Regions from separate parts of the Homo sapiens genome. Here region 2 is linked to region 1. The links are contacts of gene promoters, found by promoter capture Hi-C in human tissues and cell types (Jung and others, 2019). All regions are on one chromosome and are shown on one strand. The core of a region is centred on a gene start or on the middle of the fragment in contact, and the rest is flanking DNA. Distances in the headings are between cores, read along the strand shown.

What was found. The method cuts DNA at HindIII sites, captures the fragments that hold promoters and counts their contacts. A contact is called where the count stands out against the background at its distance.
Region 2: a fragment that was not itself captured here is called in contact with the fragment with the promoter of DHRS4 in region 1 in 7 of the 25 tissues and cell types used here (H1 embryonic stem cells, IMR-90 fibroblasts, adrenal gland and 4 more).

What each region holds. Positions count from the first base shown.
Region 1 is chr14:23,951,696-23,956,151 of GRCh38, reverse strand. DHRS4 (dehydrogenase/reductase 4) reads right to left here and starts at 2,382. Exons shown (of 8, transcript NM_021004.4): 1 at 2,236-2,382; 2 at 940-1,117. The coding sequence starts at 2,363. DHRS4-AS1 (DHRS4 antisense RNA 1) reads left to right here and starts at 1,040. Exons shown (of 2, transcript NR_023922.2): 1 at 1,040-1,404. RefSeq lists enhancers at 1,741-1,870, 1,921-2,050, 2,661-2,860. The HindIII fragment of the contact is 7,990 bases long and covers 1-4,456 here.
Region 2 is chr14:24,007,294-24,011,749 of GRCh38, reverse strand. It overlaps the pseudogene DHRS4L1. Among named protein-coding and RNA genes, the nearest start is that of DHRS4L2, 21 kb to the right of the region's middle. The HindIII fragment of the contact is 5,422 bases long and covers 1-4,456 here.

The DNA.
Region 1 (4,456 bases), core at 1,133-3,632:
GCTCTTTCCAATGCACATTTGAGCATTTGCCAGACAGTTCCTTAAAAATGGAATTACCCTATTCTGTCTACCATACTACTGTCTACTATTGCTTAAGATCCTCCTCTTCTAAGATTATGCAAATTATTTCTGCCAACCTTCCAATCTGTTAGCAGAATCCTGTACTTTCCATTTTTGGGTAGATTCTCCCTTCCACTCTGGGAAATAAAGTGTATGCCGTGAGCCTCAAGGGAAGAGGAGCTTCCTTTGTGAATGCTTCATATTTGCTTCAGCAGCTGCAAGGCTGGTGTCCACTACTAATTCTGACATCGACTTATATACTTTCTTTGAGACTAAAGTCCAGTACCCGGTAGTCCACAGGCAGCCAATAAAGGAAGGGAGCCTGGGAGGTCTGGGTCTTTCCTTACTGGCTGTGGGACCTTGGGAAGTTGCTCCAGCTATCTGAGCCAGGGTCTGCAGACTGAGAGAATAGTCCTTGCCTTGCTTGGGTTGTTGTCAGGTCTAGAGATAACCTGTGTAAGGCTCTGAACACAGGAAATGGCACATAGTAAGTGGCTGAAACATGGTGGGCTGCTTCCTGAGGTTCCCAGGGACTTGACTCTATAAGCTGAAGAAGAGGGGAATGTTTATTAACTCATGGGTGGGAACATGTATTTTGTGATTGTATTTACCCTTCACATCTGTTCAATTAGATTGAAAATTACTGCAGAACCAGTACCAGCTGTTTCTTTGGGGTACTCAAGGGATGATGCAGGGTTGAAGCATTAGAATGTTTTAAAATTCTCTGACTGAGATGGGATGATTCTCTGACGTTAGTATATGGACATAATAGAAAGGCACACAGTAAAAATGTGCTGCTGTCTAGGAAAGCAGGGAAGGAGGCTCAGGCTGGCTCCGTTTTCCACCTCCTGGCTCTGTGCCCATTTCCCTGCAGCTCACCGTGGCCACCAGCCGCTCCCGGTCCTCCGCCTTCCCCACATGGCACACGGTGCCCGTCACGCTCAGCCCCTCCCCCTGCAGCGTGGCCACCGCCTGGTCCACATTCTGCTGCTTCCGGCTGCTGACGACCACATGGGCCCCGTCCTGGGCCAAACGCCGGGCGATGGCGAAGCCGATCCTGTGAGCAGAAAGAGACAAAGACTGCTAAGGCCTGTGCAGGGGAAGAGGTCGACAGTATGAGCTCTGAAGTTAAGACTGCCCGGGTTTGAATTCTGGCTCTTTCTCTATATAACCCCTACGTGTGCCTACTATGTGTAAAACAGGCTTAATGGCATGGCCATTTTTGGCATTCCTTTACTTGTTTTTATTATGACCTGGACCACAGCCTCAGTTCCCAAGAACTGACATCACTTTCTACAGTTCCCACCATGGGTGACAGGCTTCATCCCCTCTTGGGACTGAGAGGTGAGAAATGAGCTGGGTTTGCAGCAGCAGCCACTTCCGTGATTTGAGGGTCTCACTCAGAACAGCCCTGCCCCCAGGTTTCTTTCTTACTCGTCTACATCATTCTCAAAATTCTATCCTTAGTTATTTTTTGGGGTGCATGTGAAAAGATGGTCTCCGGTCAAAAATGTAAATATTGCCTTGGGAGGAAGAGTTACACATTTTGCATTTGTCAGCTATTAGCATTTTACCTACATTTGTATTTTAGTTTTGTGAAGAGCTGGCATCTAGCAAAGTCCTGTAGAAATGAGGACCAGGATAGACAAGAATGGTGGGTGAGAAACAGGCTGGGCAAGGTCGGCCCAGATGTACCGACCTAAACAAAAATCTCGACATATGGCTCTGGTGTCCCATCTAGGTAAGGGGGAGGGGTTCCGGGGGACTTTCCGGTGCCCAAATAGAATGTCTGGTACATTTTCAAAGTGCTGGAGGCCGTGGGATAGTATTTTGAAATCCAGATTTCCTTGGATTTCCAGTTTCTGGTCTTCCCAGACGCTAGGTGGCGCTGGTTGACTGGGGCAGCCCAGAACACTGGGGAGACTAGATCGATAGGGCTGCACAGAGGTGGCACAGTTGTGCCAGAGGTAGCAGGGACAGGAGGGCTGGCAAGGGAGGGTCCAGGGCTAGGGGATTCGGAGTGGCTTCAGGCGGACCACGTGGCTACCTTTTTTCCAGGGCCAGACTTTGGCAGCGTGTAAGGTCTGAGGACAGGGGCACCGGAGGCCGAGGATGAGAGGCCAGTGCCTGTTTCCAGGCAGCCAGGGCCTCAGAAACTCCGGCCGGAGCACTCACCCGTCGGTGGAGGCCGTTACCAGGGCCACCTTATTTGCGAGCGGGTCCCGGCGGGTCATCCCGGAGCTGGCCATCCGCACCGAATTCCAAGCCCGGGCACAGAGGCCTAGCAGCCCCGCCTTGTGCATGGATCAGACCAGCAAGTATGGGTTCCACTCTTCCCAGGGGCGGTGACAGAGTAGGGCGAGGGGCAGGACGAAGGGCGGGCCGATTCCCTGCCCGCCCTGCTCCCCGCCCCGGTACCGCTGTGAGCGGTCTGTGGCCCTGGGCACCTCCATCCGCCGCGGCGCCCCTCCACCATCTACCTTCCGCCTGACTGGGGCTTGCCTTTCCGGGCTGGCGGGTGAGCTCTCCGTTCAAGTTGCCTGTAGGGCTCGCCCCTCCCCTGGCCCTTGCAGGAACCCGCAGGCTTTGGCTGCTGCCTTTCTGCATCTGCTTGCCCACCTTTTCTTCTCTGGGAAGTGGGGGTTTTGAGTTGGTTGCTTTTGCTTCTTCAGAATTCCTTCTCCAAGAAAGTCTGGGTCTATGTGTGTGACAGCCCACAGGAGGGCAAATGTTTTGAGACTGCCCATGGAGGTGAGGCCTGTGGTCGCCATGGAGTCCACCAGGTGAGGCTGGAAGAGCCTGGGAGAGAGACGTGATAGGGAGTAGCTGCGCCAGGCCTGGCACTGCCCTTCACTCTGCCCAAGGTCTCTTCCATCTTCACGGGCCCTGGAGGGCAGACTATGGTCATTGGCCAAACAGCATTCTCATGTCCGTTGACAAAGGGACTTCCTCCTTTACAGGGGCTAAGTGGTAGCGAGGAGGCTGGACAGTCCCTCAAGCAGTGGTGGAAATGCAAAGAACTCGGGGCACTCAAGTTCTCCCTAACCACTCTGTCCCCAGGTCTTAGCCGCCATCTTAGTTCAATAAATATTTGTTGAATGCAAAATCTCTTTATGAACTGTAAGCTACTAAGCACATAGTAGTTACTGCCACCATGTAGTGATTATTATTGGTGCCCTGGGCCAGACTCTTCATCTGTAAATTACTGAGGGTATGGATGATGAATAAAGTCCTTGCCAGCTATAAATTCTGTGTCCAAGACTTCAGTCTGCACTTCTGCCAAGTGGGCTGAAATGATCTCCCTCCTGGGTTTCCGGGAGAATGAAGAAATCTGGATGGCTTATGGTACAGTGTAGAAAGGCCCCAACAGACCCAAATGCAAGCATCTGAATTGGTTTAACCCACTGGCCTCCAAAGCCAGACTGAGAAGCAGTGCTGGTTCATGGCAGCGTTTTCACTAGTTCAAGGCAAAATGAGAAAAGGAAACAATTACAGTGAGTTTCATAAAGCTAAGCTTATTTAACAGTCCTTTATTGTGGAGTATACGTTTGCTTCTTTTTGTGTGTGTGTGTGTGTGTTAGTGTTTTCTTTTAGAAAAGATGATGAAAGCAGATGGGTAGGTTTAGAGATGTGTTATTGGTGAAATCACCAGTTTGGCAGCCTTATGCCAGTCCCTACAATTAAAGGGGAAAGAATCCTGGTTTGTGAAATCCAGTTCTAGGCATGACTTTTGAATAGAATTCATGTTTGCTCAAGATTCATTTAGTATATGTGCAGGTAAGCTGAGCAGCTGAAAAAGGGTTTCAACATTCAAAAGGGGGTGTATGGTGAGCAAGTAATAGAACGGCCTGCACTGGAATTCTAGTGTTTTCCTCAGCCAAGAAGTTACAGCTGCAATACTCTGCTTTGCTACTCAGCAGATCCCGATGAGACAGGAGAGCTTCAGTATAATTTTCCCCATGTCCAGGGAAGGCTGACTCTGACTGGTGCTCCTCAGTCTGAGCCTCATGAATTATTGACAGAGGCTGGAAGCGCCACACTGCTTGTCCTCTTGCACTGTTTGGAGCTAACGCACTGTGGGAACCCTTCCCAGGGCTCTCCATCTGTGTGTGCGGCTGGGGGAGGGTACACAGGAGGACGGCTGCGGGGGTTCTCAGGGCTTGGTTCAAAGGGACAGGCCTGCAGGGGGCGTTTGATCTCTCTTTCCCTTCTCTTCAGAGGTAGACAGGTGGACTCAGGGGCTGAGGTTGGCAGGAAGGTGAGGAAGACTACACTTCAAAGAGCAAAGGATTCTGGGAAGAGAGAATTGTGGCTTGGGTGCTTGGTGAACATTACATGGCCCTTCCTTGTGTGGGCAGGGTTGCTATTTGGCCTCTAGCACTATTTCTTTTGTGGA
Region 2 (4,456 bases), core at 965-3,464, 56 kb before region 1:
TCTGGCAAAATAGGATTTAAAAAAATTTGCTTTTACTATACCAGCCATAAATAATAAAAAACCAGCCACCAGATTTCAGCGGAAAGTGTTGCCTCAGGGAATGCTTAATAGTCCAACTATTTGTCAGACTTTTGTAGCTCAAGTTCTTCAACCAGTTAGAGACAAGTTTTCAGACTGTTATATTATTCATTATGTTGATGATATTTTGAGTGCTGCAGAAACGAGAGACAAATTAATTGACTGTTACACATTTCTGCAGACAGAGGTTGCAAACGCAGGCCTGACAATAGCATCTGATAACATTCAGACCTCCACTCCTTTTCATTATTTGGGAAAGACCAACAGAGAAAAAAGAGAAACTGGGAAAGAAAGGAAGAGAGAAAGTGAGAAGAGAAATCAGAAAGAGAAAGGAGAGAAAACGGCAGATGTGGAGAGCCAGGGAGAAAAAGAAAAAGAAAAAGAGACTGAGTGTGAAGGAGAGAGGACACGGGATGACAGACAGAGAGAGAGAGAGAGAGAGAGAAAGAGAGGGAGAAAATGAGTAAGAGAGAGACTGGAAAAGACAGAGATCAGAGAAAGACACAGAAGGTGAGACTGGGGAAAAAAATAATGTAAAAGAGAAAGACAGAGATCAGAGAGAGACACAGAAAGTGAGACTGGGAAAAGAAATAGTGTAAAAGGAAGAAAAAGAGAAAAAGAGAGAGAGACCATAAGAGAAGGGAGACAATGAAACAAAAAGTGCGAGTGAGCAGGTGAGGAGAAAGATTGAAAACTATGAGAAACAACAACTAAGAGACAAAGGAGAAGGGAGACTGCCTGGGTGCCGGAGCACCCACACTGTCCTCTTGCCCCCATCACTTGGGTTAAAACCATTGGAAATTCCACTATTGCAAATTTTGTATTAATCCTTGTATGTCTGCCCTCTCTATTGTTAGTCTACAGGTGTATCCAGCAGTTCCAGAAAGACAGTGACCAGCAAAAACAGGCCATGGTGACAATGACAGTTTTGTCAAAAAGAAAAGGGGGATATGTAGGGAAAAGAAAGAGAGATCAGACTGTTACCGTGTCTATGTAGAAAGGGAAGACATAAGAGACTACATTTTGAAAAAGACCTGTACTTTAAATAATTGCTTTTCTGAGATGTTGTTAATTTTTAGCTTTGCCCCAGCCACTTTGACCCAACCACTTTGACCCAACCTGGAGCTCACAAGAACATGTGTTGTATGAAATCAAGGTTTAAGGGATCTAGGACTGTGTAGGACGTGCCTTGTTAACAAAATGTTTACAAGCAGTATACTTGGTAAAAGTCATCGCCATTCTCTAGTCTCAATAAACCAGGGGCACAGTGCACTGCAGAAAGCCGCAGGGACCTCTGCCCTTGAAAGCAGGGTATTGTCCAAGGTTTCTCCCCATGTGATAGTCTGAAATATGGCCTCCTGGGATGAGAAAGACCTGACTGTCCCCCAGCCCGACACCCATAAAGGGTCTGTGCTGCGGTGGGTTAGTAAAAAAGGAAGGCCTCTTGCAGTTGAGATAGAGGAAGGCCACTGTCTCCTGCCTGCTCCTGGGAACTAAAAGTCTCGGTATAAATCCCGATTGTACATTTGTTCAGTTCTGAGATGAGAGAAAAACCGCCCTATGGTGGGAGGCGAGACATGTTTGCAGCAATGCTGCCTCGTTATTCTTTACTCCACCGAGATGTTTGGGTGGAGAGAAACATAAATCTGGCTTACGTGCATGTCCAGTCATAGTACCTTCCCTTGAACTGAATTATTAGATTCTATTGCTCACGTTTGTTGCTGACCTTCTCCTTATTATCACCCTGCCCTCCTACTACATTCCTTTTTACTGAAATAATGACGATAATAATCAATAAAAACTGAGGGAACTCAGAGACCGGTGCCGGTGCAAGTCCTTGGTATGCTGAGCGCCGGTCCCCTGGGCTCACTGTTGTTTCTCTATACTTTGTCTCTGTGTCTTATTTCTCTTTCTCAGTCTCTCGTCCCACCTGACTAGAAATACCCACAGGTGTGGAGGGGCAAGCCACCCCTTCAAACAGTAGCAACCTGCTTGGGTCCCCTTCCACACTGTGGAAGCTTTGTTCTTTCGCTCTTTGCAATAAATCTTGCTGCCCCTCACTCTTTGGGTCCACACGGCCTTTATGAGCTGTAACACTCATCGTGAAGGTCTGCAGCTTCACTCCTGAGGCCAGTGAGGCCACGAACCCAGTGGGAGGAATGAACAACTCCGGATGGGAGGAACGAACAACTCCAGACATGCCGCCTTAAGAGCTGTAACACTCACTGTGAAGGTCCGCAGCTTCACTCCTGAAGCCAGCGAGACCACGAACCCACCAGAAGGAAAAAACTCTGAACGTGTCTGAACATCAGAAGGAACAAACTCCGGACACGCTGCCTTTAAGGACTGTAACACTCACTGCGAGGGTCCGTGGCTTCATTCTTGAAGTCAGTGAGACCAAGAACCCACCAATTCCAGACACACCTTCATTTTGAGCCTATGTGTGTCTTTGCACGTGAGATTGGGTCTCCTGAATACAGCACACCATATGGGTCTTGATTCTTTATCCAATTTGCCAGTCAGTGTCTTTTAATTGGGGCATTTATCCCATTTACATTGAAGGTTAGTATTGTTATATGTGAATTTGATCCTGTCATGACGTTAGCTGGTTATTTTGCCCATTAATTGATGCAGTTTCTTCATAGCATCAATGGTCTTTACAATTTCGTATGTTTTTGCAGTGGCTGGTACTGGTTGTTCCTTTCCATGTTTAGTGCTTCCTTCAGGAGCTCTTATTGTAAGGCAGGCCTGGTGGTGACAAACTCTCTCAGCATCTGCTTGTCTGTAAAGGATTTTATTTCTCCTTCACTTACGAAGCTTAGTTTGGCTGGATATGAAATTCTAGTTCCAAAAATCTTTTCTTTCAGAATGTTGAATATTGGTCCCGACTCTCTTCTGGTTTGTATGGTTTCTGCTGAGAGATCTGCTGTTAGTCTGATGGGCTTCCCTTTGTTGGTAACCCAACCTTTCTCTCTGGCTGCCCTTAACCTTGCTGAATCTGACAATTATGTGTCTTGGGGTTGCTCTTCTCAAGGAGTGTCTTTGTGATGTTCTCTGTATTTCCTGAATTTGAATGTTTCTTTTTTCTTTTCTTGTCTCTAATCTTGTGTTCTCACTTTATTTCATTAATTTTATATTCAATCACTGATATCCTTTCTTCCACTTGATTGAATCAGCTATTGAAGCTTGTGTATCCTTCATGAAGTTCTTGTACTGTGGTTATCAGCTCCATCAGGTCATTTAAGCTCTTCTCTAGATTCTTCATTCTAGTTAGCCATTCGTTTAACATTTTGTCAAGGTTTTTAGCTTCCTTGCAATGGGTTAGAACATGCTCCTTTAGCTGGGTGTAGTTTGTTATTACTGACCTTCTGAAGCTTACGTCTGTCAAGTCATCAAACTTATTCTCCATCCAGTTTTGTTCCCTTGCTGGTGAGGACTTGTATTCCTTTGGAAGAGAAGAGACGTTCTGATTTCTGGAAGTTTCAGCCTTTTTGCTCTGGTTTCTCTCCATCTTTGTGGTTTTATCTACCTTTGGTCTTTGATGTTGGTGACCTATGGATGGGGTTTTAGTGTGGATGTCCTTTCCTGTTCTGATGTTGATGCTGTCCTTTGCTGATGTTGATGCTATTCCTTTCTGTTTGTTAGTTTTCCTTCTAACAGGCCCCTCAGCTGCAGGTCTTTGGGGGTTTGCTGGAAGTCCATTCCAGACCTTATTTTCTTGGGTATCAGTAGAGGAGGCTGCAGAACAGCAAATATTGCTGCCTGATCCTTCTTCTGGAAGCTTTGTTCCACAGGGGCACCCACCTGTATGAGGTGTCTCTCTGCCCCTACTGGGCGGTGTTTTTCAGTCAAGCTACATGGGGGTCAGGGACCCACTTGGGGAGGCAGTCTGTCCGTTATCGGAGCACGAACTCCGTGCTGGGAGAACCACTGCTGTCTTTAGAGATGTCAGGCAAGGACACTGAAGTCTGCAGAAGCTGTCTGCTGCCTTTTGCTCAGATATGCCCTGGCCCCTGAGGTGGAATCTGGAGAGGCAGTAGGCCTTGCTGAGCTGCGGTGGGTTCCGCCCAGTTAGAGCTTCCCTGCAGCTTTGTTTACACTGTGATCATAGAACGCCTACTGAAGCCTTAGCAATGGAGGACTTCCCTCCCCCACGGCCCCGTTAATTGATGCAGTTTCCGCACCCCCCCCACGGCCCTCTCCACCCTACCTGTCAAGCTCCAGCTCCAGCGGAGGATGCTCCAGGGACAGCGATGTCAGGACTGAGATGCAGGGGCTGCCTTAGAGTCTGGATGCATGGGGTAGCGGGGTGTGAGGCACCGGGCCGGGGTGCAGGGCCGGAAGGAACGTGCTGGATCTGGGATGCTACCAGACGGGG